Linked DNA regions of Homo sapiens: regions 2, 3, 4, 5 and 6 are each linked to region 1. The links are contacts of gene promoters, found by promoter capture Hi-C in blood cells and fetal thymus (Javierre and others, 2016). All regions are on one chromosome and are shown on one strand. The core of a region is centred on a gene start or on the middle of the fragment in contact, and the rest is flanking DNA. Distances in the headings are between cores, read along the strand shown. Region 1 holds the start of FBXL22 (F-box and leucine rich repeat protein 22). Region 2 overlaps CIAO2A (cytosolic iron-sulfur assembly component 2A). Region 3 has its middle 5.0 kb from the start of RPS27L. Region 4 overlaps DAPK2 (death associated protein kinase 2). Region 5 overlaps RAB8B (RAB8B, member RAS oncogene family). Region 6 overlaps APH1B (aph-1B gamma-secretase subunit).

What was found. The method cuts DNA at HindIII sites, captures the fragments that hold promoters and counts their contacts. A CHiCAGO score of 5 or more calls a contact.
Region 2: a fragment that was not itself captured here is called in contact with the fragment with the promoter of FBXL22 in region 1 in 13 of 17 cell types (naive CD8 T cells, naive CD4 T cells, non-activated CD4 T cells and 10 more); the score reaches 14.8 in naive CD8 T cells.
Region 3: a fragment that was not itself captured here is called in contact with the fragment with the promoter of FBXL22 in region 1 in 1 of 17 cell types (M2 macrophages); the score reaches 5.3 in M2 macrophages.
Region 4: a contact is called between a fragment that was not itself captured here and the fragment with the promoter of FBXL22 in region 1, in 1 of 17 cell types (naive CD8 T cells). The highest score is 5.3, in naive CD8 T cells.
Region 5: a fragment that was not itself captured here is called in contact with the fragment with the promoter of FBXL22 in region 1 in 1 of 17 cell types (neutrophils); the score reaches 5.4 in neutrophils.
Region 6: a fragment that was not itself captured here is called in contact with the fragment with the promoter of FBXL22 in region 1 in 3 of 17 cell types (M0 macrophages, M1 macrophages and M2 macrophages); the score reaches 7.0 in M0 macrophages.

What each region holds. Positions count from the first base shown.
Region 1 is chr15:63,595,144-63,598,828 of GRCh38, forward strand. It overlaps FBXL22 (F-box and leucine rich repeat protein 22), which reads left to right and starts at 2,244. Exons shown (of 2, transcript NM_001367807.1): 1 at 2,244-2,602. The coding sequence starts at 2,250. The region is part of intron 1 of USP3-AS1 (USP3 antisense RNA 1); the gene reads right to left. The HindIII fragment of the contact is 9,685 bases long and covers 1-3,685 here.
Region 2 is chr15:64,069,032-64,072,716 of GRCh38, forward strand. It overlaps CIAO2A (cytosolic iron-sulfur assembly component 2A), which reads right to left. Exons shown (of 5, transcript NM_032231.7): 5 at 3,534-3,685. Among named protein-coding and RNA genes, the nearest start is that of CIAO2A, 23 kb to the right of the region's middle. The HindIII fragment of the contact is 3,006 bases long and covers 455-3,460 here.
Region 3 is chr15:63,160,664-63,164,348 of GRCh38, forward strand. No RefSeq gene overlaps it. Among named protein-coding and RNA genes, the nearest start is that of RPS27L, 5.0 kb to the left of the region's middle. The HindIII fragment of the contact is 3,798 bases long and covers 1-3,536 here.
Region 4 is chr15:63,996,013-63,999,697 of GRCh38, forward strand. All of the region lies in intron 2 of DAPK2 (death associated protein kinase 2), which reads right to left. Among named protein-coding and RNA genes, the nearest start is that of DAPK2, 49 kb to the right of the region's middle. RefSeq lists an enhancer at 2,068-2,569. The HindIII fragment of the contact is 7,981 bases long and covers 1-3,685 here.
Region 5 is chr15:63,210,504-63,214,188 of GRCh38, forward strand. All of the region lies in intron 1 of RAB8B (RAB8B, member RAS oncogene family), which reads left to right. Among named protein-coding and RNA genes, the nearest start is that of RAB8B, 23 kb to the left of the region's middle. RefSeq lists an enhancer at 124-689. The HindIII fragment of the contact is 2,021 bases long and covers 1,043-3,063 here.
Region 6 is chr15:63,306,035-63,309,719 of GRCh38, forward strand. It overlaps APH1B (aph-1B gamma-secretase subunit), which reads left to right. Exons shown (of 6, transcript NM_031301.4): 6 at 1-3,092. Among named protein-coding and RNA genes, the nearest start is that of APH1B, 30 kb to the left of the region's middle. The HindIII fragment of the contact is 2,045 bases long and covers 531-2,575 here.

The DNA.
Region 1 (3,685 bases), core at 994-3,493:
GACACAGGTGCCTGCAGCTCAAATTGTTATGCATCCTTGTTCCGTAGGGCACATTCTTTTGGCAGCTGTGCTGGTCAGAGGCTGCGTGGTTGCTGTCACTGCTGCCAAACAGCATAGCTCTGGACAAGCCCAAAGGGGCAGAGCTTCGTCATCTCCTGGCTGTGCCTCAGACCCTCTGCAGCATGCAGGAGCACATTCCCCCTGGCCCTGGTAGTCTAGGATGCTTCCTGCAGCCTACCTGGAGGAACAGCAGAGGGGCAATGCTCTAAATGTTCTCCCTGCCAATCTTTTGCCATTCCAGCTGGGCTGCAGTAGTGCAACTTGGAAGCCATGCTGAAGCACAGTGACACTTACTCAGTGGAAGGCACAAGTACCACTCTGGCCTTGCAAGAAGTGGAAAGAACCACCTATTCCTAAGGGTCAAACCCTCTGAAAAGCATTGGTTTGAGGAGGATTGGGGAGGGAAAGTGGAGATAATGTGGCTTTCTAATAACACCACCTGTGGTTTTGCAGCATCCATTTTAAGTGGAGAAGTACACCTAGACAGAGCCTAAATTAGGGTGTCAGCTATAATTCAGAACTACATTGATGAGCTTGAAATAGCAGCAGTATCTTGCTCCCCTTCCTTGGGAAATGCTTCCTTTCGACCTCCTTGGTTTGTTTTTAAGAGAACCCCCTACTGTACTTCATCTTGGCATGGTGGAGTAATGGAGGCACAGGGGCACCAGCTGAGGCTGGCTTCTCAGGAAAGCCACTGACAATGGCTACTTCCTTCTTTGCTTGACTGCCTTCTGCTTTAAAGGCAAAGCTGCACCAGCCCTGACCAAACCTTAGTTCCAGAAGTGGGTTCAGCATAGGCTGCTTCATTTGTGTCTATGGGAAAACACAAGGATTCCCATTCCCTCTTATTCCAAATGGGAGAACAAACAGAAGTAACCACTGAGGTGGTGGTCCCTGGGCTGGCAGAGGAAAAACCATTCTCTTCTCACTATTGCCTAGGCAGAACGTGGCCTATACAGCTGCACCATATCAGCATCCCCCAAGCAAACCAAAAAACAACGACTGGGATTCAAAGCAGGAGAGTTAAGGTTGGGTCCTGGGTTTGGGAGTGAAGCAGCATGAGGAAACGGGTCTGCCATATCGTGAAGCCTCGGGTACTCAGGAAGGGGGAGCTTCACGGATAGTACCTCCAGGCACCTTGCCTAGAGTTGAGTCAGAGAGGGCAGGGGTGGCCCACTGGCTTCTCCAAGAGGGAACGGAGGGCACTCATAGAATGGATGGTGTGTGGTCAACTTAAAGGCAAAGATGGACTAAAATACTGAACTTAAAATTGTTTCAAGCAGTTTCACATTAAGAGCTACCTCATCCATCCTGACATTTTGGGAAGTACAGGTTATACATAGTACAAGGCCTTATCAGTGAGAAAATGTAAAGCCAAGTAAATTTAAATTTAAAACACAGAAAGTACTGCTTGACCAAAACTACAAAAACAACAACAACAACAACAAAGCACCAATAAAACATAAAACACAGACACACAACTTTGGAAAGCAGCTACTTCAGTAAAATTCTTTTATGAAACAACTCAGGGTAAAAATCTAGCTGTTGGGGAGGCCCAGGAAAATCCCCCTGCCTAGTGGCAGGCAGCAGGGCTTGAAGGCCAACCAGCCTAGCCTGGAGACAATTACTCTATGGCACAAAAATAACAGGAATGAGGCAGCAGCCATGGACTCTGCTCACAACTCACAACCGTCACCCTTAGCTCTCCACACGCAACAGGTTTCTTCCTAGTAAGGGTGGAGCAAAAGATTCACACTGATGTACTAGAAAATCAAAACAGTTAACATTTACAATTACACTCCTTCCCCCTAAGTACAGACTGCAAAGCCAGACAGAGCTGGCCTGGCCGCCACCACTGCCAATGAAAACGCCTTGGGAAAAGCCAAAAGTGCTCACTGCTAAACACCATTGTCAGCTAAAGGGAAAAAAAAAATCCCTTTTAAGGAAAGTAACTTCAATAGGCTCCTTTTCTGCCAGGACCTCCAATCCCTCTGAACATAAGCCGAACCACAGACTGCCGCACATGTGTCTGGGTCCTGGCTTTTCTTCCCTCACCCCTCCGCAGAGCTTCAGCACCAGTTGTTAGCCAAAAATAAACACCATTCCTCAACCATATATGTCCACCGGCCCAGAGTCGGGGAGGAGGAGAGGAGGCAGGTCAGCCGTCCCCCGGCTGCAGCTGCACTCACATGTGGCCACTGCTCACCATGCACATAACCCAGCTCAACCGGGAGTGCCTGCTGCACCTCTTCTCCTTCCTAGACAAGGACAGCAGGAAGAGCCTTGCCAGGACCTGCTCCCAGCTCCACGACGTGTTTGAGGACCCCGCACTCTGGTCCCTGCTGCACTTCCGTTCCCTCACTGAACTCCAGAAGGACAACTTCCTCCTGGGCCCGGCACTCCGCAGCCTCTCCATCTGCTGGCACTCCAGCCGCGTGCAGGTGTGCAGCATTGAGGACTGGCTCAAGAGTGCCTTCCAGAGAAGCATCTGCAGCCGGCACGAGAGCCTGGTCAATGATTTCCTCCTCCGGGTGTGCGACAGGTAGGCCACCTTGCCTCCTGAGCAGTGCTGGCCCCGCTAGCTCTGGCTTCCCTCTTGGGGGGCAGGGAAGAGCAAATTACGAGACCAAGATGGCTCCACCTTCGGGGCGCCTCAAACTAGGCCCAAGGCAGACATCCAGACCGCCCAAAGCAGGGTCCCCAGGAGACAATAAAATCATGAGGGAAACAATTGCTAATCCTCCTCTTAGCCTCACAGGTCCTGGGCTGCTTCATGCAAACACCAAGAAGTGGGGCCTCCGTACTGGTAGTCATTAAGTGCTGGGTGGGTCCAGCTGGGCCTGGATTTTCAAGGTCAGGCTCTGGGAAAAGGCTTCCAGATGCAGCAATCAGCTCACCCCTCCATTAGGCCTAGCAAGCAGCCCTCAAGGCCTGGGAAACTACGGAGGAAAGAGAGGGTGGGGAGCCAGAGGTGGAGAAGCCAGGGTGCTCAGGTCAGCTGAGCCAAACCAGACTCCAGGAGTAGATGAATTACTGATTTACACAGTATTCCTAAGGAGGGTGGCTTAGCCTAATTTTTCAAATTAGCAAACTGATGCTCCACGAGGTGGTATGATTTGCCCAGTCTAGGGTTGCCAGATTTTAGCAAATATATAGGCTGCCCAGTTAAATATGAATTTCAGATAAACAGTGAATAATATTTTAGTGTAAGTATGTCCCAAATACATCTTGTGTTTATCTGCTAACCCCCACCCCAGACACAGACATAGACACTGAACCACCAGGCCAGGCTCCCTCCATGGTCCCAGCCTCATGGGCAGAGCGGCCCAGGCAAGAACACAGAGCTATTCAACCAGCCTCTCACTGAGCTTCTGCCAGTCCCGTGCTGCCTTTGAGGAAAAACACCCCCTTGATCATATAACAAACTGGCCCTGGCTGTTCATGGAAAACTAGACTCAGCCAGTTTACTGCCACCCAAGTTCATAGCTGCTATTTGCTGGCAGCACGACAGGAGTGGAAGGAAACAGCGTAGTGACCCCACCTTTCTTTTGAGCTGGTAGGAAGAAAACAGAAGATGGACTTGGGGTTGGGCCCCGACTGGACAAGGCTATTTTGATGGGCTTAA
Region 2 (3,685 bases), core at 708-3,207, 470 kb after region 1:
TTCCTAGTAAACTGGCCCCCACTAACTACAGTTAATTGTGTCCTGCTGGACACATCTGCAGTTTTGGTAGCAGTTGCTTCATGGTGGAGCTGGGAAAGCTGCTTTTTTTTTTTCCTTTTTTTCTTCCTTTCTTTTATTTTTTTCTTTATTTTTTGAGACAGCATCTCACTCTGTTGCCAAGGCTGGAGTGCAGTGGCGCAATCTTGGCTCACTGCAACCTCCGCCCCCCAGGTTTAAGCAATTCTCTGCCTCAGCCTCCCGAGTAGCTGGGATTACAGGCACGTGACACCATGTCCAGCTAATTTTTGTATTTTTAGTAGAGATGGGGTTTCACCATCTTGGCCAGGCTGGTCTTGAACTCCTGACCTCGTGATCCACCCGCCTCGGCTCCCAGAGTGCTTGGATTACAGGCGTGAGCCGCTGCACCCAACCTAAGCCACCACGCCCGGCCATAAGCTTCTTATTTGTAACGGTCTAAGAAAGCAGTGGATAAATAATTAGTTGAGCGTGGTAGCTCTCATCTGTAGTCCCAGCTTCTTGGGAGGCTGAGGTGGGACAATTGCTTGAGCCCAGTAGTTTGAGGCTGCAGTGAGCCCTGATGGTGCCTTTTCACTCCAGCAGGGGCGACAGAGAGCGACCCTGTCTCAAAAGCAAAAACAAGAAGGTAGTGGCTCCTACTGGGGCTCAGAAAGCAATAACCCAAAATATGGCTCCTTGGTGTGCTGTGAATTAAAGAAGAATAGAAAGCCTCAGAAGCAGCCTCAAAAGCAAAGACTCTCTCTGACCATATCCTGCCCTGCTGTCTCCTGCCCCTTCCTCCTCCAAAGGGAGTCATAGAAAACAGAATCTGTCTTCCCCAAGGGAGGAAATAGAAACCAGAACCTCTTTTCAAAGCAAGCCATACCAGTCTGGGAAACATGGCAAAGTCCCATCTCTACAAAAAAATACAAAAAAAAATTTAGCTGGGCATGGTGGTATGCACCTGTGGTCCCAGCTACTTGGGAAGTTGGGGTGGGAGGATCACTTGAGCCTGAGAGGTTGAGGCTGCAGTGAGCCATGATTGTGCCACTGCACTCCAGCCTGGGCAACAGAGCAAGACCATCTCAAAAACAAAAACAGTAACAACAACAAAAAGCAAACCACAAAACCTAGAAATATTACTCTAACTTTCCCCCGCCTTTCTGTGCATGAGCTGGCCATAAAGAAATTCTCTGACCTGCCTTATCTAACAGTAGGTCATAAGACTGCCCCATACCCAGGAGGAAGGAATGCTACACAGAAAGGCCAAGAAGAATCTGAAGAGATAGTCCTTGCTGGGTTTCCCCACTTAGTCCATTACCATTAGATCGCACTTTTTGTCCAATCACATTTCTACACAATTGTCCACTCTTCGTCAAACCTAAGCAGAAAAATAAGACAGTTTTCCCTGGGTCTTTGGATTCTTCCTATCTGAAGCCTGCTGTGTCACATAAAACTTGGATTGACCACATTTGTTATGCTTTTCTCTTGTTACCCTGTCTTTTGTCACGGGGGTGTTGGCCATGACCTTTATGATGGGTGAGGAAAGGTATCACACCTTCTGCCCCTATACTCCCAAAGTTGTGAACCCTCAGGGCTCTGGGGGGTTATTAAAGGAGGGGGGAGCCCAGTGCTCAGCTAGCATTACTTGTAAAGCAGAGTTATTAACCCGGGGTCCACTGGCTCCTTAGCAAGTCTGTGAATGTCCTGGAGTCACATGCAGTTTCATGTGAGTGCCTTTTTCTCCCTAGGGAGAGGGCCCATTCCACATCTTTTATCTGATTTTCCAATTGGTCTGACTTTTCAGAAAGGATAATCATTCTTGTAAATCAGGAGTTTGCTAATGGCACACAGGCCAAATCCAGCCCAATGCTGGAATTTTGTACAACCCACAAGCTAAGATGGTTTTTATATTTTTAAACGGTTGAAAAAATTAAAAAGGAAAATATTAATTCATGACACATGAAAATTATATGAAATTCAAATTTGTGTCCATAAAGTTTTCTTGGAGTGCAATCATGCTTATTTGTTTACAGACTATCAGCTGCTTTTGTGCTACAAGGGCAGAGTTGAATAGTTACAACAGAGCATATGGCTTGAAAAGCCTAAAATATTGCCTATGTGGCCCTTTTCCAAAAACGTTTCCTAACCCTTGCCAAACATGGACCAGATAACACTACTTCTGACTATATATGTACCTCTATTTTTCACTTCTATGTAGATACCATTATGATTAATAAAGTTTAAATTCATGTTCTAATATAATTAATGCAGTAGATGTTAGTTTTTTGACCCCTCTCACTCTACTATAGAATTCCCACCATGTGAGTCTTGCTGGGGGGACAGAGTCCACCTCCCCACACCAAAGGTCAGATTTTCTTTTCTCCCGCCTTCTTGGCAGCCAGGACATGGACATGTGACTTGAGATCAGCCGACTAGAGATCTCAGCTAGGACTAGGAAGCTGGAGTGAGTCACACAAAAATGAGAAATCACTCTGGCAGTAGCGGAGACAACAGAAGTCACATCTAGCTTCCAGGAGCAGCAGGGCCAGCAGTTCAGGTGACTCCTGTAGCAATGATCCACTTGGAGTTGCATGTCAGTAGTGTCCTCACCAGACAGTCCCTAAGGCATGGTTTTGTCTTTGGACCTGCTGCCCGGCTTCTGTTTCTACTTGGCCAGGACGAGCTCAGGCAGTAGATAAAACTGAGTCCGAATCACTCACTGCCTGGAGCAGAGAGAAGCTGAAGGTCCAGGCTAATAAGTATGAACTCCAGGAGGACAGACAATGGCTGATGTATCTTTGTGTCCTTGGCACCCAAGACAGTGCCTGGGTCCAGACTTTGGGAGCTAGGCAGTTCTGCATCAGGAGTTCACTCACATGGTTTGCAAATTGCTGCTGGTTGTTGTTGGGAGGCCTCAGCTGCACTCCGTGTGGAATTCTCCACAGGGTGGCTTGAGTTCTCGTGACATAGCAGCTGGATTCCTACAGAATAAGCAATCCAAGAGCCTAAGGTGAAAACAGCAATACCTTTTATGATCTAGCCTCAGAAGTCACCCATTGTCACTCTGCCATTCTTTATTAGCCACACCCATCAGCTCCAATTCAATATGGAAGTTAACTATACAAGGGCATGAATACCAGGAAGTGAGGATCTTGGGGGCCATGTTGGAGGCTACTATACTTCACATGACCATTAACCCCTAAAACAAACCAAATGAAGGACAGATAAAGTGCGGACCATACATTTAGGTTGGTTTAATCAAAACTTCTTTGGTGGACTTCTTGATCTTCAAAATTGTGTATGCCATCTAGCCTTCTCCACATTTGTTCCTTATCTATGAAAGGGTCCAGGACTCTCCTTGGAAGGAAGGAAGGCCCAATCTTAAGGGTTCCTTTTGGTTCTCAGATCTCTGATTCTACAAAATAATCAGCAAAAATAAAGCTTTGAAGATATCCTTTAGGAGTTGACATTTACACTGGAATTTACAATTCAATAAAAACAGTGAGTCATTATAAGAATCATCTGCTTATTTATTTTACAGAGTAATGATTTAAATTGAGTACATTTGGGCACAGTAGATATTTGACACGAAAAATAGTTGTATCAGAATGAGCATCAGAAAAATAGCAACTCATCTTGCACATAATAACTAGAAAATATTATT
Region 3 (3,685 bases), core at 388-2,887, 440 kb before region 1:
TTTTGTTTTTCCCTATCTCAATCCAGAAGAACTATTGTTTTGAACTAATACTTTGTCATATTTCATTGTTGTTGTAATTAATATTTTCCATATGCTTATTGGCCATTAGCATTTTTCTACTTTTGTTTTCTTGTGTTTTTGAAACAGGGTCTTGCTCTATTGCCCAGGCTGGAGTGCAGCATCAAACTCCCAGCCTCAAGCAATCCTCCTGCCTCTGCCTCTCAGAATGCTGGGATTACACTGTGACACACTGTGCCCTGCCTAATTTTATTTTTTGATAATTTGTTTTAATCATGCAGAAGTTTTTAATGTTATATATTCACACACACACATACATATTTCAAATTTATTGCTTTTTTCCCTTTTGCTATTGTGTTTAGAGAGGACTTGGTCACTGTAGGATTAACTGAATATTTGCCGTTGCTTTCTTCTAATTCTCTTGTGATATTTATTCTTTAACTTTTTAATTAAGTTGGAATTTATTTTGGCACTTCATGTATCATAGGTCTCAGAACAATTTCTGATTATTAGGCCTAGTTATGGCTTCAGTTCTTGTTAACTAATGCCCGGTGTAGTGTCAAAATCCTCCAGCCTCTCAGACACTCACAGGCAGCCTGAGAAATAAAATTTTCCAGGTCAAGAAGACCTGGACTCTAATTACAACTCTGCCTCCTCCTCCAAAGCTCAGTTTCTCCTAAAATGTTTTCAGGCCCCTGCACTGATGGCAGATGGAGGGCCCTGGAGTCCCTTTACACTTGGCACCCTGCTCTCAGGGATCCTGCAGAAGGAGCTCCCACCTGGCTTTCCAAAGAACTGTAGAGCACCAGTCAAAATCCTATTTACTGCCCTGAGAACTTTCCATCCATTCTAGCTGGCCAGGTCTAAGTAGGTGCCACTGAAACCTTCCATTTGGCACTGGCTCCCTTCACCTCAGAAGGGTGTGGGGGCCATCTCTACTCCCATCTCCCTTTACCAAATTCTTTTTTTTTTTAGATGGAATTCCAGGCTGGAGTGTAGTGGTCCCGATCTCGGCTCACTGAAACATCTGCCTCCTGGGTTCAAGTGATTCTTGTGCCTCAGCCTCCCAAGTAGCTGGGACTACAGGTGCACGCATCATGCCCAGCTAATTTTTGTACTTTTAGTAGAGACGAGGTTTCACCATGTTGGCCAGGCTGGTCTCAAACTCCTGACCTCAGGTGATCCGCCCACTTCGGCCTCCCAAAGTGCTGGGATTACAGGTGTGAGCCACTGCGCCCAGCCTCCCTTTACCAACTTCTAGTGCTGATAAAACACATAGGTGTTCGGACAGGCTAAGCCGGGAACCCAACTAGTGCTAAATTTCAGGCCCCAAGTGCTGCTCTAAATAAATCAGATCCCCAGCTTTCCCCTGGACTGAAGTTTTTCAATGCCTATGCCCTTTTCCCAGAAAGATGATCAAGGGTTTAGTTTAGTTTTGCTTTTAAGAAATTCAGGCCAGGCGCAGTGGCTCATGCCTATAATCCCAGCACTCTGGGAGGCCGAGGCGGATGGATGATTTGAGGTCAGGAGTTCAAGACCAGCTTGGCCAACATGGTGAGACCCCATCTTTACTAAAAATACAAAAATTAGCCAGACATCAAGGTGTGTGCCTGTAATCCCAGCTACTCAGGAGGCTGAGGTAGAAGAATCATTTGAACCCGGGAGGCGGAGGTTTCAGTGAGCTGAGATCGCGACACTGCACTCCAGCCTGGGCAACAGAATGAGACTCCGTCTCAAAAAAAAAAAAAAAAAAAAAAATTTAGAGTTTGAGGTGGAGGTCCTAAAGATAACTTTTCTTTTTCTGAGTCAAGGTCTCACTCTGTTGCCCACACTGGAGTGCAGTGGTGTGAAACAGCTCACTGTCGCCTTCACATCCTGGGCTCAAGCAATCTCATCAGCCTCCAGAGTAGCTGGGACCATAGATGTGTACCACCACACCTGACTTATTTTTTAAAAATTTTGTAGAGACGGGGTTTTGCCATGTTGCCCAGACTGAAGATAACTTTTCTTTTTTTTTTTTTTTTTGAGATGGAGTCTCACTCCGTCGCCCAGGCTGGAGTGCAGTGACATGATCTCAGCTCACTGCAACCTCCACCTCCCAGGTTCAAGCAATTCTCCTGCCTCAGCCTCCCCAGTAGCTGGGACTACGGGCATATGCCACCACGCCCAAGCTAATTTTTATATTTTTAGTAGAGACGGGGTTTCACCATGTTGGCCAGGCTGGTCTCGAACGCCTGACCTCAGGTGGTCCACCCACCTTGGCCTCCCAAAGTGTTGGGATTACAGGCGTGAGCCACCGCGCCCGGCCTAAAGATAACTTTTCATACCCTTTCTAAGTATTTTTCTGAGACACTTCGAGAAATCTGTGTCATCAGGAAACTATAACAAGACTGCATTCTTTTTTCTCTTCCATTGTCCACCTATTGGCAGTTATTAAAGTGCTTGTGGCTCATTCTCAACACACTCCTGAAATCAGCAGCAACTTCTGCAAGTGTGTGTCTTTTCTGCCTACCAGTTCTCCAACAGGACCACACCCATGGCCCCCAAAGTGCCAACTGTAGAGTTGCCATCTATCTGTTATTCATGAGGATGCTTCATGAAACTCTCTTCAGTCATCCCTTCTGAGTGGCCATCTGTGATCTGCCAAGACCCTGACACGAGGATCCCCTGTCAGGATGTGGTCCTCTTTTAGCCTAGAAGGCGTTGCAGTTGGGGTCCATCTGCTCCTCAGTCATCAATCAAACCAAATCACCGCAGAAACATCCTTTGTCCCTGCCTGTGGGACCATTCAGTTTTAACAGGCTGCGGCTCCTCCTGTTCTATGCTTGAAATGGATATGGGAATCTTAAAGGAGACAGCCTGTAGTCCTAGCCATGTAGATCCTTGCCACTTTGTGGACCAGCCACCTACAAACTTTTTGGAAATAGAGACTCTCAGGCGCCACCCCTGAACTACTGAGTCAGAATCTGCATTTTAACAATGGTGATCCTTGTGCACATCCCTGTGTGAGAAGCACTGGCCTAGATATATCACACTGCCATTCTCTCTGGAGTCTTCCTACCTCCCCGCTGGGGCCGTCAGGAAGCCAGAACCCAGGTTTCTGCTACTCCAGGGTAACAAATCAAGGATTTTTCTCTATATTGGAACAGGAAAGCACTCCTCTTTCACTGCTTCTCCAAGATACTCTATTCATTCCAGCAAATCTCATTCTCTCTTACCATATCTAGGAACCTTTTAAGTCAGTGATACCAAAGTTGTTTGCTTTTTGGAATCACCAAAGGAGCAGCTGAGGTCAATTAAATTAGAGTATTTAGGGGTGGAACCCAGGCGGCAGTATTTTTAAAACTCCCCAGGTGATTCCATGAACAGCCAGCATTGCACTTCCTGCTATAAATTGTCTGGAGGGCTTAGAATTTATAAAAGCAAAGCCCAGAAAGTACTATATGCTTCTAATGCTTAAAAGGAGAATGAGGGAAAAATACAGGGAGAAAAAAATCATTAATATTTCAAAATAGCCAAGCTTGGCAGCCAGGTGAGATCTCCTAGCACTTGTCCTGCTTGCCTTGATGATCAGGTCTCTTCATTTCCCCTACCATTGCTTCCTGCAAACCTTCTCACTATCCGCCCGAGACTCCAGAGGGGAAGGTAAGCTACTGAGAGACACGGT
Region 4 (3,685 bases), core at 455-2,954, 400 kb after region 1:
TGTTATCTTGGTACCAAATGACAACAACTATGATGACCTAGATGTTGGGTGTATTTCCTCCTTCTTCCTTTGCACCATGGATTCTCAAACTTGGGGGCATATCAGAATCATTTGGGGAGCTGGTTAAAAATTCAGGCACAGCCAGATGCAGTGGCTCACACCTATAATGCCAGCACTTTGTGAGGCTGAGACAGGAGGATCACTTGAGGCCAGGAGTTGAAGACCAGCCAGGGCAACACAGTGAGATCCCATCTCTACCCTGCCCCCCAAAATTGTTTTAATTAGCTGGGCATGGTGGCATGTGCCTGTAGTCCCAGCTACTCAGCAGGCTGAGGTGGGAGGATCATTTCAGCTTAGGAACAAGAGACTGCAGTGAGCTATGATGGTGCCACTGAACTCCAGCCTGACAACAGAGCAAGACCCTGGCTCTAAACACAAAAATATTAAAAATAAATAAAAATAAATGAGACACCCGGGCCTTATTACACATTTGCTAAATCATACTCTTCTGGAGGGCATCTGGCTTTTGATCTTCCACTTTTATGTTTGCTTTCTATGTGCCTCTCATCATAGGTTGCCTCAAATTCTTAACATGCATGAGCAAGAGGAATCATAAGTGGTTCTGTGCTGCCATCACTGCAGCGTTCACTCCAGGACACGAGCATGGAGAAATACAGTGGGCAGCAGAGCACGACTTCCAAAACGGAGCTTAGCCCATTTCACAGACGGCTAAAGGGAGTCCCAAAGTGTGAAAGGCTTTGCCCAAGGGAGGACTACTCAGGCAATCATGTACAGCCGATCCTAATGGCCAAGTTCATTGTAGAGCAAAAAGCATTTATCACAGGAATGAAATGGTGCCACCCCCATCCCCCTCTGCCCCCACGCTTGCAGGTGGCCTATTCCCTCATCCCCACCCTCAAAAGATTTGGCTTTAGGTCCACACCCAGCCTTTCTGCCCACAAGCCTGGAGGGCTGGGTGGGGACAGAAGGAACAGGTCCAAGTCCTCTTAGAAGCACATCTTCCTCTACACCTCTCCCATCCAGCCCTACTCCCCAGCAGACACCAGAGCCTCTGTCAGGCAAGCGGCTCAGAGTGCAACTGTGCCATCTCCTCTGTCATCACCACCCCCAATTAGCAACTCCCAGGTGCCTTCAGGGTTGCCACTCCTGCCCCACTCCTCCAACTCTGCTCTAAGCCATTACAGGCTTTGGCACTGCCTGACAGGTTTCCTTCAAGCCTAATTGTCAGGGCGCAGGAAAGGTATGTGTCAAATCCAACATGATTTATTTGTCCTTTGTCTACCCCAGCTGCAATTTATTTTATTTTATTTCTGAGACAGATTCTCGCTCTGTCACCCAGGCTGGAGTGCAGTGGCACGATCTTGGCTCACTGCAACCTCCACCTCCCAGGTTCAAGCAATTCTCCTGCTGCCTCAGCCTCCCAAGTAGCTGGGACTACATGTGCCCGCCACCATGCCTAACTAATTTTTGTATTTTTAGTAGACATGCGGTTTCACAATGTTGGCCAGTCTGGTCTCGAACTCCTGACTTCAGGTGATCTGCCCACCTTGGCTTTCCAAAGTGCTGGGATTACAGGTGTGAGCCACCATGCCCGGCCTTTGCTGCAATTTAAAATGGACCCTAGCCTCTAAAATGGTCTCTTTCCTCTAGAAAACCCACCCATCAAGTCTCCCACACTAACTGCCTCTAATTGCCCTTGTCCTCACCCACATGGCCCACACTGGAGTCAAAGAGGGGCAGAGGTTAACCAGCAGTGCTCTGAGGGCACGGAGGTCTCTGGAAAGGACTCCAAGATAACTCCAGTCCAGTTCTGTTACAAGGTGGCTGTGAGACCCTGGGCGAGTTTCATCATCAGTGAGACAGGAATGAAAACCGCCTCATAAGCTATGATGATTTCATGCACTGATCCACACAAGTGCCCACAATGGCATCCAGCACATGGTAAACACCAACAAATAGGATTTTATCCTTGGTGCTCTGGGCTTCAGTTTTCCCACCTGTGAAATGAAAGTAATACACTTATCTCACAGTCAGTTAAGAAAAAGGAATTTGAGAATTGGGAGAACACAGCACAGAGCCTGACATATCCTTGGTGCTTAGGAAGTGGTTTCTGATTGATGAAGGATGAAGCAGTCAGACAGTGAGTGTCATGAGTCAGAGCAGACATTCTTACCCATGGGTGCAGGCTGCCCTTCCCTGCCCCTCAGTACCCCAGAAAATCACCTCCGTCCTCAGGGAAACAGGCCCACAGAGCAGTCATGGGCTCCCACATGGATGTGGGCTGGCCACACAAGCACATTCCTGCCTTGAGAGGTGGCAGGTCCAGGCTTTCCCTCTGGGACAGAGGGAGAAGCCAGGTTGTGTCTCAATATATTAGGGCCCAGGAGAGCCAAAGGATGGACTGTCTCCCTCAGGCTGCCTGCCACCACACTGTTCCTGCAGGCTGGGGACTCTGCAGGGTCTCTCCTGCCAGAGGCTGGGCCTGGCTGGCAAGCCTCCTCTATACACAGAGAAGGGTCCCCACATATGCCAGGCTCTCTGGCTCCCTGGGTCTCTGCAGGGTGGACCTATGCCCGGAGGAGACCCAGGGGAATCCCCAGGAAGCCCAGGCAGGAGCAGCTGAGGTTGCCATGGCCGTAACAGTAGGTGCTTTCCGTGTGCACAGCTTGGCATCCTCCCCCTTGCAGCTCGTCCTGCCCTGCACTGTTCTGTCTACTTCCCGGAATCTCACCGTGGGCTGTAGTCTCCTGAAAGGAAGGGACAGTGCTGCTTGTTCACTGTTGTGCGTTTGTGCTGGATGAGGATTAAATGAATAATGAGTCTTGAGAGCAAGCACCGGGAACACAAAGATGAACAAGATGCAGTGCCCATCCACGGAAGAACCACCAAATATTGGAAGAAGGCAGCTTCCTCGCAAATCTTCTCTTTCCTAAAGGAAATATTCTATATATTGACTCTCCTGTGCTCTTGGAGGGCAGGGCTGTTTTGTGAAATTTTCTACCTGCCAATCCCCCACAAAGTACACAGTAGGCGCTTTGACACAAACTAAACTCAGCTCGGGAGCATGGCACAGACGCTGTGCTGGAAACTCGCCCATTCACTCTTCAGCAGTCAATCTCTGTTCTGAGAGGAGTTTTCCCATGGATCCCAGAGGCCAGTAAGAAGCAAACTAATTTGGTCAAAATCTCTCTTCCTCTCCAGCCCAGGAATGATCTGACCAAGCTGGGGCTGGGGGTCAGGACTATCCATGGGCCAGGCATCAGACCCGAGCCTTTCCAGGGCACGTGGGGACTGGGAGGACAGTTCTGCCCCCACAGCTGCCAACAGCTGCTTCTCGTGGAACTGCAGGGTCAAACCACAGGGGAGAGGAAGATCATCTCCCCTCCCATCTCATAACTAAGGAAACACTCACAGCAGCTTGCCCAAGGTCACAAAGCAGTTCAGTCACACAGCCCAGGACCTCAGGTCCCTTACTTCTATTCCTGTGACTTTCTACAACTGCTAGGATTTCCAAACTTGCTCCATCAGTAGGGGTCTTTTCCTTTTCATTATTTTAAAACTTTTTAGCAGAATAATGTACACAAACATGGCTAAGTAAAAATGAGATTGCATAGAAAGCCTTATAATGCAAACAAGAGTCCCCTGCCCCATTCCTCTCCCACCC
Region 5 (3,685 bases), core at 803-3,302, 380 kb before region 1:
ACAGCTAGGCTTCCTGCTGTCTGCACAAGGGAACCTTTGGTGCTGTCCAGGTACCTTCCACCTCCAGCTTCCCAACCTTCTGTGGATCATTTTTCAATTTTTTCACACCAAAGCACTGAGATAATTTGGATGTGGGGAACGTGGCAGGGTTTCTGACATGGAAGACCCTGAAAGGAGTAGGAAGTATGTGCCGTGGCCTCCCGCTGTCTTTTCTATTGAGAAAGGGGTGGGCAAGTAGTGGGTGGTAGCTGCAGCTGTGGGCAAGGCCCATTCTTGGCCTTTTTTTTACTAGGCTGTAGGCTGGTTTTTATTGAGTGGCTGGTATGCAAATAAAAGATGAGAAATGTAATTGTCTTCTGAAGAGAACAAAGAGAAATTTAATTGTCTCTCGTTAACATCACACCACAGGCATTTTCTATCAGCATACTCGAGATACTGTGTGGTGTGGTTCTAATTAACTTTGAAGAGCCAGAGCTCAACTCAACCTGAGGAAACCACTTTTGCCAAAAGATACCACTACACAAGGGACCCATCAGAGCTCTTGCAATATCAAAAGATAAACAGCAGGGAAAGAATTTGGGGAAGGATCCTATGGTTGGTTTGAGATGTGCGTCTTATCTGCAAAAACCCAAATAAAAGTGAAAGACCAGCTCTGCTTTTATTAGCTTAAGTGTTTTGTGTTAAAATCTCTTTTGGCCTAACTTTTCTTTATTGACAAGAGAACAAATAGTAGAATATCCTTTGTAGATCGGAAGTATAGAAATTACTGAGAATACTGGGAAATGCTTCACAGATGTTCCTGAAACTACAGCCAGATTGAGTGAATTCTTGTCCCTTTCTGAGTTGGGAGGTTGGGAGATTATTGTCTCACGTACTGTGATATTATAACTGTGTTCTACCCCAGACTATATGTGTTCACCATCTCTCTCATTGAGATTCTGGTTTAACCCTATTATATCCTTAACTTTGATGGCCATTAGAATAGGAAAGAATGTTTACGCAAGACTTTAGAGAGAGCCATAGTTTGATATTTCCTTTATAAAGCTTCCTGATACTGTGTTTAGTATTTACTTTCTTTAAATGTATCTTCTTAAAAGTACAGGTAGTGTGGTAGAGTTCAAAATTAACTTCCAGTTAAATCCAGTCATAGTTTTGGTGGATTTTTTTTGCCAAGCACCGCATTTTTCTTAGTATTGTCATATATTGACTGACACTAGTCAATTGCAACTAGTGACTGGTCATGATAGATATTGATAGACATCTCATAACTGTCATGGCTGAAGGGGAGTTGCCCCTAGTTGATCATTCAACAACATGAAGAGCCCTGTGTTTTTTTCTTTTTTTTAGAGACAGGATTTCACTCTGTCATTTAGGCTGGAGTGCAGTGGCGCAATCATGGCTCACTGCAGCCTCAACTTCCCAGGCTCAGGTGATTCTCCCACCTCAGCTTCCCAAGTAGCTGGGACTACAGGTGTGTCCCACCATGCCCAGCTCATTTTATTTAATTTTTTAAGAGAGGGAGTCTCTCTATGTTGCCTGGGCTGGTCTTGAACTCCTGGGCTCAAGCAGTCCTCCTGCCTCAGCATCCCAAAGCGCTGGGATTACAGTCATGAGCCACAGTGCCTGGCCTAAAAGCCCCATCTTCCTACACAGTGCGTTGTAGTCTTTCCTCCTGAATTGATGTAGAGGCATCCTTGATGTATAACAAGCAGAGCATGCTGAACTAGTTCGCAGCAAAAAACAAACAACGAAAACTTGATATCCAGGTTGTTCTTGGATAGGTCACCATGTTTATCATTTTTAAACATCCGGGGTTGTGAGATAAAGTTGTTAAGGGAGGGATTGCACCAGCACATTTTTCTGTTTCAGTTCATGTTCATCTGACTCATATTTATTCTAGTCTAACCTCATTTTGCGTGAAAATTTTTGTACTAGAAAATGTCACTTTCAATTAGGGGAGGGGAAATTCTGATTGGGGATCAGAAGAGTCAAGATGTATTAGTGATAATTTGGCATCACTTTTGATTCAAGGTAAAAACACAGAATCCCTAAAAATGTAGTAAAGTAAAAAGTGATTCATATAACTAGATAGGGGAAAGGAAATGTCACTGCTGAGCTTTACTGTGGGAAGAGGGGGAGGTGAAGGAAATTATTACAAAATTTTTGTACGTGATGAGGAGACAGCCTCTGGACTTCCCCAAATATTTCCGTATTCCCTAAAACAGCTCTAGTGAATTGCTTCATGATTGGTGTATGAATAGAAAGACACTAGAACTCTTAAACTTGATCTTGAAAGGCCCGTCTTTGTATATAATCATCCACAGATGTCCGTATGTGATTATATATTCCCATAGTGAGGCAATGATAAATGTAAATGAGAACCATGATATAATTTTGCCTTGCTTGCATGCACATTTTCAGAATAGAATTAAAAGCACATGCCACTGTCAGTAGTTAACTATGAGGTTTGTCTTAGTTTTTTATAAGGCTTTGGCAGAGGCCTAAAGCATGTTTTAGTGTCTAAGTCTTCCCTCCCTCCCTCTCTTCCTCCCTTCTTTCCTCCCTTCCTTCCCTCTTTGGAATCAAAAAGGAACTCTCTAGGTTCTGACTATTCTCTTTTCAGAACTAGGGACAATTTCAGCTTGTACACAGATTAATTTTCATTTTTTGGCTTCTCTGCTGGTACCTGAAATTGTAACTAAGTTATTACTAGATAATTCCTTTCTGACTTCTTCCTTCAAATAAAATCTGATAAGGACAAATGTCTTCTAGGTACTATTTCAGGTGGATATGTTTGGAGGGGGACGTGGGGCAAAGCAGAGGATAGGCTAGGGGTGCTGTTATAATGTAACTTAGGTCAGTTGATTGGTGCTTAGTAAATCATGGTTTTCTGTATAGTGCCAAATGCTCAGAAAATCTGTACTGGATAAAGAATTTCTTGTTCAAGTCTATTTAGTTACTGTACTTATGCCTAAAACTGGAATGTGCTCCTCTTTTAAATTCAGTAGGCTGTGCATTTATGACTATAGATGATACCACTTTCATTTTTAAAATAATGATAAAAGCTTAAGTTGTAAATTTAAGTTGTAATATGGACACTTAAAAAAAAACCCAAAACAAAACAATCTTCCTTCTGGTTATGGGGAATTCCTACATGAGTTCTTTCCAACTGCTTTTGTTTATATGAGTGTTGAAACTTAAAATGAGTAAATTCTGTCTTCCAAATAATTTTCTACATTTTCCATTTATTTCCATCGCTTATATCTGCTCTCAAGAACAAAACAAAAGTGGTTTCCAGGCCAGGCGCGGTGGCTCACGCCTGTAATCCCAGCACTTTGGGAGGCAGAGGCGGGCAGATCACGAGGTCAGGAGTTCGAGACCAGCCTGGGCAACATGGTGAAACCCCTACTCTAATAAAAATACAAAAATTAGCTGGGCGTTGTGGCATGTGTCTGTAATCCCAGCTACTCGGGAGGCTGAGGCAGGAGAATTGCTTGAACCTGGGAGGTGGAGGTTGTGGTGAGCCAAGATTGTGCCACTGCACTCCAGCCTGGGTGACAGAGCGAGACTCTGTCTCAGGGGAAAAAAAAAAGTGGTTTCGTTTGCTATACCAACGTGTAAAATGTAGAAATTTCCAGTGTTTAAAAATTCTGATTGGCTATTCCTTTCAAGGTATTACAGTGTG
Region 6 (3,685 bases), core at 303-2,802, 290 kb before region 1:
TTGGCCTGGGCACGTGGTGAGTTTTAAAAGCTTCCCAGGTGATTCTGATGTGCAGCCATGTTGAGACCCACTGGTTTGGTATCCAAATAGGAGCTTCCTGAGAACACCTTAAGTGGATGAGAATCTGGTCTTTAGCTGTCTCCTAACTCAACTCGTGCTGAGCAAGTAAGTATCTGAATGTCAAATCCTGGTTATCTTTTATCTTCCTAAGTTCTGAAGTCACAAAAGGCTAAAGGGCTATCACCCCTGCTCACTGTTTGCGTGTACTTCACCATCTTAGGAGAACACGGTAGGTTGGGCTTCTAAATGCAATAATAAATTACGCTGACTGTGGTAACTTAGCCAAAGTAAGATACTGATTAAGCCGTATTTTTCTGAAGTGCTTCCATTCCAGGTTTTGCTTTCTGAGGCATTACATTGTTTTTGAGTATAGATTACATTTTATTAACTAAAAATGATTGTTTTGTGACTTCCTTGGGAAGGTATTTTAAAATCAGGAATTTTTATGCAATGTCTATAAGCCTGTTTAAAGCTTTCCATGGGCTCTGCCCCAAGGCCGTTGGCTGCAGCGTTCACCATCTGAGTGCCAGTTGCTGGACTAGTTGAGGTGAAGTGCATTGTTTTCTCTCTGAGCAGCTGTGCGGGGAGCTGAGTGATGTGCCCTGGGACAGGCTTCACTGGAGCTGGTGGAAGTATAACCAGAAGCACAAGGAAATGAGCCAAAAGGGTGTCATTGACACTTTTCATTTGCTCCTGTGATACTAACAACACTTTCACCCAAATGGCTTAATGTAATATTGGAAATAGATCTTAAACTGCCAAATCTCACACTATTGCATAATCCATATGCTCTTTAGATCTAGTCAGTGTCTCTGGGTTTTGGTAGCAGATACAGCGTTCCCTTTACAGGAATACCCAAGGTGTTCTTTCAGCTTCCAGACAGGTCCTTTGATTTCCTTTATAAAGGGAAAATTCTGGCAAATCGTGCCTTTACTATTAGAAATTGTTCCCAGTTGATGTCTTTTGGGGAGCTGGTGGCATGAAATGCAAATGACCTATACATTAAAGTGATGTCTCAGTGAATACCATACATGCAGTAGAACATTCAGAAGAGAGGAGCAGCAATCCTGAGGGGCTGGGGGAGTGACAGTGGCAGGACGGATGGGCGGGTTTGACAGATTGTGGTGGGAAGAAGAATGATCATGTTTAAAGCTAACATAGCCAGTGTTTTGGGCTAGCCACACATCATTCCAGAGACCAAAACCTTACTCATGAACTAGACCTTTATCGATATCAGTGAACCCCCATGTTTAAAATATTAGAATGTTTAGAGATAAAATAGAGATAATAGAGATAAAAGAAGAGGAGGGCTTCTATCAATGCTGTAAACAGTCTGATAAGCGACTGTGGTTATTCCCCTAAAGTTTACTTCAGCACTAACACTAGTGCTTCCGCTGGAGTTTGCAGTTTTCCAGCTTTATACAGGATTTTCCTTTGACTGGAAGAGTCAAGGATATAGAGACTCAACAGTGACATTTATTGTACAACATCAAGGGGAATAGGATACTCATCAAACTGGGATTATTCTTATCAAAACATGGTCTTCTTTGAATAAGAAAAATACATAGTTGGTTATTATGGACTTAAAACTGTGTTAAATGGATATTCTGATAAAATATTTGCTGCTCTGTAGAGTGTGGAAAGTCTGAGAATATTAGCTTTACTCATCTTGAGCTTTGAGGATGTTCTCTGTACGCCGATGGTTTCATATTAACTAAAAAAGCTGGGTATTGTAAAATCTCATTTATAAAAACTCAGATGAGAAGAAAATTTTCTTTGATGGTGAGACTGTTGTCTTAGTTCAGGAAATTATTTAATAATCCTTTGTTACCTGTGAATGAAGGAACTTTGTAATTCTGATTTATCGTAAAACATGAGCCTTTCCAGAGTCAGCTTAGACACTGTTGTCGCAAATAGCCATGCTTTGCCTTATGCCAAGGAGGCCCAGAGGGAGGGCCTAGTCTTCCTCTGTTGCTGTACATATATTGAAATGCTTTTTTTTTTTTATTTTGCATTTGTTATCTATAATGAGCTTTCTGAGCCCTGATATTATGTGAGACAAACAGGAGTTATTGATGTTATACACTCCCTTCCATTCAGGATTTTCTGCTTGGAGGGAAATATGTTGACCTTAGAGAATTGTGAATATTGTTGCAATTCTTGAATATATTACCATGTGAATAATAGAGACTGTGTTGCTCTCTAGTATAAGCTATATTTATTTTTGATTCATTTGAATTACTAGTTATAACTGGAGAAATTTTGTTACCTCTATCCTGGCTTGCCTGACTGGCTGTATAATAGCAGCAGCCTCTTTTAGAGCATCTTAATGAAAACATGGATGAAAGGAATTAATGATGATATCTGCAGACTGCGTAGAAAATGGCTTTTGTTCCCAGCGTTAACATTTTCTTCTCAATCACATTTCAATGTTTGTGGAGAGTGGCAGATTCACACCAGAAACACTAGGTGTTCATATCCATAGCATGGATGCAGAATAAGCAGTTGGGAGAGAAGCTTCTTCCTACCTGGTACTCCTCCCATTCACCTCAGCCCAGCCCCAGACAGGCGTTAGCATTCAGTGTGGGCCCTCAGGCAGCCCTGAAGCCTGGCTGGGTCATCAGATGGGGGCAGCCTGTGACGGGCACCAGCGGCCTGATTCCAGGGAAGAGTTCCTGGAGGGTGTTGGCTGTTTTTGTTAGCTCAGTTTTTTTCTGGGCTCCACCATTCCTAACTCCAGGTAGACAAGATAGATGTCACACACAACAATTTTAAAGTATTTTGCTTAGTGCATTTTGTTTATGATTGCAGTGTTTGTTTCTTATTTAATAGGCTTTTTACTTCATTCTATTAAATTTTAGTGTTTAGAAGAGGCGGGTACTGTCACTGTGTAAAATATGTAATATTTTATATGTTATACCATGTCATATATACTTGCAATATCAGACCTTGCATTCAATATACAATGCAATTGACTCTTTGCAGACCTGCATTTTTCAGTGAACAATAAAAAGATTGTCTGGCACTCCTCATTTCCTGTGTTTCCTGTTCTGTGGAATGGTGTATCCTTCAGTATGTTACTACCGTGTTTTGTCTCCTTATGAAACTTGGATGTACATTCTGTTGTTTATGACTGATCAGTTCAGAGACTTTTTTCAAAGAGAAATTCTTTATCTGATTTAAAACTCCTAAGGCTTATTTCATATCTGTGTGTTTAGGAGTAGTTTGGTTCAGAGCATTTCCTTGAGGTATCTTAAACCAAGCCGGGGGAATCCTCAAAGATCCTGGAAGCTTGCTTTGCAAAATCTCCTAATTGTAAAATGGTGAATTTAAAGAATGTTTGTATAATAGTGGCTAAGGATTGGAGTCCGGTGAAGAGGAGAGTACAATTTAGCTTTTACCTGGTGATTCTGAGTAGCCTATAGAGTCCTTTTCTCTTTCTTTCCCTTGGTGAGGAGACAGTGCAGCTAAAGGGTTGAGCTTGGCCCTTGCCATCAGACAGGATACATAGGGGATTATGATACGATACTCAAAACCATTTGATGCTTGTTCACTCTGGCTTGAAATGAGGCTGTTGCAGGCTATGTTGATGACGTTATTGGATGAAACGTTCTCAGGTCCCAAG